2 separate regions of the Homo sapiens genome follow, and region 1 is linked to region 2. Evidence: promoter capture Hi-C in human tissues and cell types (Jung and others, 2019). All regions are on one chromosome and are shown on one strand. The core of a region is centred on a gene start or on the middle of the fragment in contact, and the rest is flanking DNA. Distances in the headings are between cores, read along the strand shown. Region 1 holds the start of ZNF579 (zinc finger protein 579). Region 2 holds the start of SHISA7 (shisa family member 7).

Evidence for each region. The method cuts DNA at HindIII sites, captures the fragments that hold promoters and counts their contacts. A contact is called where the count stands out against the background at its distance.
Region 1: a contact is called between the fragment with the promoter of ZNF579 here and the fragment with the promoter of SHISA7 in region 2, in 3 of the 25 tissues and cell types used here (heart right ventricle, psoas muscle and spleen).

The regions. Positions count from the first base shown.
Region 1 is chr19:55,579,326-55,582,758 of GRCh38, reverse strand. ZNF579 (zinc finger protein 579) reads left to right here and starts at 1,911. Exons shown (of 2, transcript NM_152600.3): 1 at 1,911-1,964; 2 at 3,118-3,433. The coding sequence starts at 3,120. RefSeq lists silencers at 562-856, 1,568-1,707. The HindIII fragment of the contact is 17,237 bases long and covers 1-3,433 here.
Region 2 is chr19:55,441,520-55,444,788 of GRCh38, reverse strand. SHISA7 (shisa family member 7) reads left to right here and starts at 1,489. Exons shown (of 4, transcript NM_001145176.2): 1 at 1,489-2,596. The coding sequence starts at 1,926. RefSeq lists a silencer at 2,586-2,675 and an enhancer at 2,169-2,797. The HindIII fragment of the contact is 24,914 bases long and covers 1-3,269 here.

The DNA of each region.
Region 1 (3,433 bases), core at 662-3,161, 140 kb before region 2:
CTTGGCCTCCTTTACTTTTTTGAGTATATAGCACATTCACACGGTTTTGAATTCAAAAAGTACAAAAAGCCGGGCACAGTGGCTAATGTCTGTAATTCCAGCACTTTGGGAGGCCGAGGCAGGTGGATTGCTTGAGCCCAGGAGTTCAAGCCCAGCCTGGGCAACATAGGGAGACCCCATCTCTACAAAACATACAAAAATTAGCCAGACATGGTGGCACACTCCTGTAGCCCCACCTACTCAGGAGGCTGAGGTGGGAGGATTGCTTGAGCCCGGGAGGTCGAGGCTGCAGTGAGCCGAGATCACACCACTGCACTTCCTCCAGCCAGCCTGGGCAACAGAAGGAGATCTCATCTCAAAAGAAAACAAAACAAAACAAAAAAAAACAAACAAACAAAAAAACAAGGATAGAGTGTAGTAAATTTCTGTCCTGGAAGTTAGACTATGTTGCCAGTTTCAGTTTCTTCTCTCTTGTTCCAGTTCATCTGGACACAATCCCAGAACACACACAAACCCAGAACAGGCTGCAGGCTGTACTTGACCTTCCATTTTTCTCTTCTACAGGTTATCACTTGGAGACTTACCATATATGCACACGGTGAGCTTCTTTGTTCTTTTCTATGGACACCTAGTATTCCACTGGGTGGATCAGTCATGATTTATTACTCAGCTCTCCTACAGATGGGTGTTTAGATTGGTTTCAGCTGTTTGCAGTGATGTGCAGTACTGCAATGATTAACCTGGTGCAGACATTATTTTGTGCAGTTCCGAGTAGATGCCTCTGAAGAATAAATTCCTGGAATTGCTGGCTCGGTAAGAATGTTCCAGGTTCTACTTGCCCCAGCCGTGTATGAAAGGACCTGTTTGCTCGCACTCTCATTAGCACTGTTTGGCAGGAATGTAACCTTAAACAAACAGCGTCAAGCTGTGGGTATACTCCTGCAAAATGCCTTTTCTGCTCCAGAATAGGTTTCTGAGATGTCGCCAGGTTGGTTTCATTCTGCCAATTTCAGCTGAAACATTGCTGCCTCCAGGAAGACCTCAGGAATCACCTCCTCCCAGTGTGAGCTCAGCTCAGTGCCTTCTGTTCTCTGCATTCCCATAGCAGTTCCCTGCCTCGGAGCACACGTTCCCCCACATGCACTCCAGCGTGATTGATCCGTATCTATCTGCCTTCCCCATCAGACAGTGAGCTCCGGTTTTTGCCACTGTGACTCCAGCACCAAGGACAGCACCAGCCCATAGTAGGTGCTCAGTAAACATTGGCTGCTAAGGTCCCAGTGAATATGCGTATATGTAGACAAATATATGCAGGCTGGCCCGTAGTAGATATTCAGTAAATATTGGTCGCTTAGGGTTGAATGAGTATATGCAGGGGCTTTCACAAAGGGGGAAACCGAGGCTCGAAGTGGGAGAATCCTTCACCCAGACAGCCAAGGGAAGGCTGGAGCCAGGTTCTGATCCAGAGTGCCAGTACTTCCTGAAGCCTCTGTCACTGATTCATTCATCTTCCTCCCCCGGCCACTCCCCTGGCCTGACACAGTGCCTGGCACAGACAGGACCTGATAAATGTGTATTTGTTGAAGGAATGAATGAATATGTGTGTGTGCATGTTGGGGAGCCGGGAGTAGCTGGACCCAGTGTTCCAGGCCCTCAGCACCCTCCGCCCTCTGGGAGCCCGGGGGACAGGCCCCCAGCCCCCTCCCCTCACAGGACCCTGTAGTGCAAGCTGCCTTCCCTCCCCTCTCCAGGTCCCCCGTCCTCCCGCTTCCGGCTTCCCAGCCAGTCTTTCCTCTTTCAGGCTCCGAGGAAAGGCCAGGTTTCCGGGGGGAAGGCTTAGGCAGTGACACCGAGCCCAGCCTCCTCCTCCACCCCCCACCACGCTCAGGCCCCCCTCCCTCCCCGCCACCACCGTCCGCGTTTGGCCGGCCGTGGGGAAGGAAGAAAGGAGCCAAGGAGGCGAGGTAAGAACCCAGCCCCAGCGACCAGGACCAAGCCCCAGGCCCAGGGCTGAGAAATCCTCAAGGCCTCGACCCGGCCCCAATTCTGCTGATCATGCCTTCGGGGAGCTGCAGGCTTGGCCCGGAGGAGATCGGCCCCCCTCTAGGACCTGGGACCCCCGACCCCCACCAGCCTCCCTCCCGAGTCCAGGGGTCCGGCCCTCAGTCGCCTCCTCCCTGGGGATTCCCGGCAGCTGGGTCCCCAGCCCCCGCCTCCCCCTTGTCCTGGGAGCCCAGCCCCCTCCCCAGCCCCTCCTCCACCGGGACCCAGGAATCCACACCTCCTCCATACCAGAGTCCAGATTCCCCAATCCGTCATGACCTGGACCCAGGAGTCTCAATCCCCAGCTCCCATCCCCATCAGTCCCAAGAGTCTGGGCCCCTAGCCCCCTCCCAACTCAGACCAGAAGTCTGAACCCTCCTACTCCCCGACCTCTCCCAGCCCCTGGCATCTGAGAACACACTCTATTTCCGGGGCCTACCGGCTTCAAATCCCACCCCCTCCACTCAGGCCCCATGGGCTGTGTCCCAGCCCCTCCCAAAACGTTCAGCCTGGCCGGGGGACCTGGAGCAGAAGCGGTTCGCTGACTTTGTCCCCCTCCGTGCCTCTGCCCAGTTCACTCCCTCTGTGTCTCTGTCTCCCTGTCTCTCCGGCCCCCAACCCGCCACTGCTCTTCTGATCTCTGCTCTTGCACTATCTCTGCCTCTGGTTCTCCAAGTCTCTTTGTTTCCTCTTCTCTGTGTCTCTGTCTCTCTGCTGGGTGTTCCTCACTCTCCTCTGTCTCTTCTCTGCTCTGCCTTTCACCATCCTGTCTTTCTGCGACTCCTGGTCTCTGTCTGTCCATCCCCACTTCTCTGTGTCTCCCATCTCTGCCTTCTCCTGTCTCTATTCCCTGCTCTGTCGCTCTGTCTCTGATCTCTCTCCTCCTGTCTCTCCATCTCTGGCCTCCCCTCGGTGTCTCTCATCTTTGTCTCTGTCTCATATCTCTCTCCTGGCTAAATACCTGACCCTCTCTGCCTCTCCATCTCTGACTGTCTCTGCTTCTCTTTCTGCCACACCCCACGCACCTCTTTTTATCTCTGCCCCGCTTCCCATCTCTCCCCTCTCTCCCCACAGGCATGGATCCGCAGCCTCCTCCACCCGCCCAGGGCAGCCCACCTCACCGTGGCCGAGGCCGGGGCCGTGGCCGAGGCCGTGGTCGGGGCCGTGGCCGTGGCAGGGGGGGCGCTGGAGCCCCTAGGGCGCCCCTGCCCTGCCCCACCTGCGGCCGCCTCTTCCGTTTCCCCTACTACCTCTCCCGGCACCGGCTGAGCCACTCGGGGCTCCGGCCCCACGCCTGCCCGCTGTGCCCCAAGGCCTTCCGCCGGCCGGCCCACCTTTCCCGCCACCTGCGCGGCCACGGGCCCCAGCCCCCGCTGCGCTGCGCCGCCTG
Region 2 (3,269 bases), core at 240-2,739:
GGCTGTTCAGATCAGGTTCTTGCAGAGAGGAAATGTAAGACTCCGTGGGCAGTCACCCCAGACCCCTGGGGGGTTCCTCCTGCAGGTAGAGCTCAGACGTTTCCTTCTCCCGGAACCCGAGGCCAGGCATCCTTCCCACCTCTATCATCCCTCTAGGTCCACGGGGGTGGGCGTGTCTGGGACTTGGCTGGACTGTTGCCATAGAAACAGCTGGAAGACGTGCCCACCACCACCACCACCAACTCCCACCTCTCTTCTGCATCACCTTTTCTCTCTCTTTTGAGACAGGGTCTCACTCTGTCAACTCAGGCTGGAGTGCGGTGGTGAAATCACAGCTCCCAGCAGCCTTGATCTCTGGGACTCAAGTTATCCTCCCACCTCAGCGTCCTGAGTACCTGGGACTATAGGTGCGCACGACCACGCCGGGCTAATTTTTTTTTTTTTTTTTTTTGTAAAGACACGGTTTTGCTGTGTTGGCGAGGCTGGCTGGTCTCCTGCTTGAGCAATTTGCCCACCTTGGCCTCCCAGAGTGCTGGGATTTACAGGCGTGAGCCGCCGCACCCGGACGACCCTTTCTCAGCCTGTATCTCCCTTCTGAAATAGCAGCAGCAGCAAACACTTTCATATTTCACCTGCAATATGCCAGGCACTGTTCTAAGCTCTTTACACATATTCCCTCAGTTCATCCTCCTGACCACTCAGAGATAACCATCCTTATCCCCATTTTACAGATGGGGGACTTGGGGCACAGGGAGCTTAGATAAGAGCCTGTCAGTGTCAGGCAGCTGGCAGGAGGTCCAGTCGGCAGGGGAACCACCCTGCTGTGGTTGTGGTTCAGCTGTGGACAGAGACCCTTCAAACCCGACGCCGTAACAGTGGTGTGTGTGTGCGTGTGCATGCCAGGGAGAGAGAGAGAGAGAGGGAGAGAGAGGGAGGGAGGGAGGGCACCTAAGATCCCTTGATTATCAGATCTAACTAAGGGAGAGAAATTGGCATTTCGGGGCACTGAGGACCATAGGGGTGTAAGTCAGTGGTTCTCCACGGGGGCAGCTGTGGCCTCCTCCCACCAGGGGAACATTTGGCAATGCCTGGAAACATCTTACATTGTCACAACTCGGGGGAATGTGGTGCTGCTGGCATGGAGAGGGCGCTGCTAAACATCCTACAGCGCTCAGGACAGGCGCTCACCACAAAGCAGCATCGGTCCCCGAATGTCAGTGTTGAAAAACCGTGCACTGCCTCTTCCCACTTGCCTGGTCTATAAACTCAAATTCTCAACTTCTCTCTCTCCTCCTCCCTCCCTCTCCTCCCCCTCCTCCTCCTCCCCTTCTTTTCTCCCTCCTTCCCCGTCTCCCTGACTCCTCCTTTCCCACCCACCCCTCATCTGTCTCGCTTCCTTCCCTCCCTCCGCGGTCCCCACTCCCCTCGCCACCCTCCCCTCCCCTTCGCGCGCCTCCCTCCAGCTGCCTCCCCTGCCCTCTCCTCTTCGCCGCCCCCGTTTCTTCTCCTTACATCGCGCCTCGCCTCGCTCCTCGTCCTAATGTCTGCACACCCCTCTGGTGTCTGTCGACCCTCCCAATCGCTTCTCCCGCATTCATCTCTCGCCTGATCCCGGTTCTGTCCGCCCATGCTCATTTCTCTCCCCCAGCCGTGCCCGGGCGCGTTTCCATTACTCTCCCATCGTCGCCCACCGCGCGTGGGGCGGCCAACTTGGGCCCACGCAGCTCAGCTCCCTCCGCCCTTCCTGCCTCCTGGCGCCTGTTGCTCCCCACACTCTGCCGCCCCCCGCCCGCCCTCCCCAGCCTCTCTGCCCACCCATCTCTACGTTTCTCACCCTCTGACCGTTTCTCTCCCGCCCAGCGCTCCAACCTCTGCTCTCGTTCTCCCCGCAGCCTGGCGGCCCAGTGCGACCCCCTGCAAGCCCCATGCCGGCCCTCCTGCTCCTCGTACTCCTGGCCTCTAGCGCCGGCCAGGCCAGGGCGCGCCCGTCCAACGCCACGAGCGCCGAGCCCGCGGGCCCGCTGCCCGCCCTGCTGGCGCACCTGCGGCGCCTGACCGGGGCGCTGACGGGCGGCGGGGGCGCGGCGAGCCCAGGCGCCAACGGCACCAGGACCGGCCCCGCGGGCGGGGCGGGCGCGGCGGCCCGGGCGCCCCCTCCCGCCGAGCTCTGCCACGGCTACTACGATGTCATGGGCCAGTACGACGCCACCTTCAACTGCAGCACCGGCTCCTACCGCTTCTGCTGTGGCACCTGCCACTACCGCTTCTGCTGTGAGCACCGTCACATGCGCCTGGCGCAGGCCTCCTGCTCCAACTACGACACGCCGCGCTGGGCCACCACGCCGCCGCCGCTAGCTGGGGGCGCCGGGGGCGCTGGGGGTGCGGGCGGGGGGCCAGGGCCCGGCCAGGCCGGGTGGTTGGAAGGGGGCCGGACTGGGGGTGCCGGGGGCCGCGGGGGCGAGGGCCCCGGGGGCAGCACAGCCTACGTCGTGTGCGGGGTCATCAGCTTCGCCCTGGCCGTGGGCGTCGGCGCCAAAGTGGCCTTCAGCAAGGCGTCCCGTGCGCCCCGGGCGCACCGGGATATCAACGTGCCCAGGTGCGTGTGCTCTCGGGCGGGAGGACTGCGAGCCTGGGGCGGGGCCCAGCAAGGGAGGTGGAGCCATCCGAGGAGGAGGGGCTGCAGGGATAGGGCGTGGTGGTCAGAGACCCAGGTGGCGGCCGCCGGCGTAGCTGAAGGTGGGCAGGGGCTGAGAAAGTCGCGCCAGAGCCGGCCCGGCTGTTGCGGAGTGATGCAGGGAGAGGGAGAAGCCCAGACTCTCATTCATTCGACACATATTTCTTGAGCACCTTCTGTGGGCCAGGAGCTGGGGATACACCAGTGAACAAAACAAGGTCTCTGCCCTGGTGGAAAAGCCTGACTTCCAAATCCAAGTTCACAGCCTACAGGCTATGTGACAGTGGATGAGTTGCTTAACGTCTCTGTTCCTCAGTTTCCTGTCCGCACAATGAGACTAATCATCGTCCCCACCTATTCGGATTGTAATTAACTGAGTTGATTCGTGCAGGGTCCTGGCACACGGTAAGGGCTCATTAACTATCAGTGGCCCAGTCCGTAAGCATGTGCAGTGTAATTTTAGATGACTGCTGTGAAGAAAATCAGCGGAAAGTGTTGAGAGAGAGGGCGCTGGATTAGAGGAAGTGATCCGAAAAGGCCTCTGAACGGAGACCCGAAGGGAGGGAGCGAACCACGCAGAGATCTGTGGGCGAGA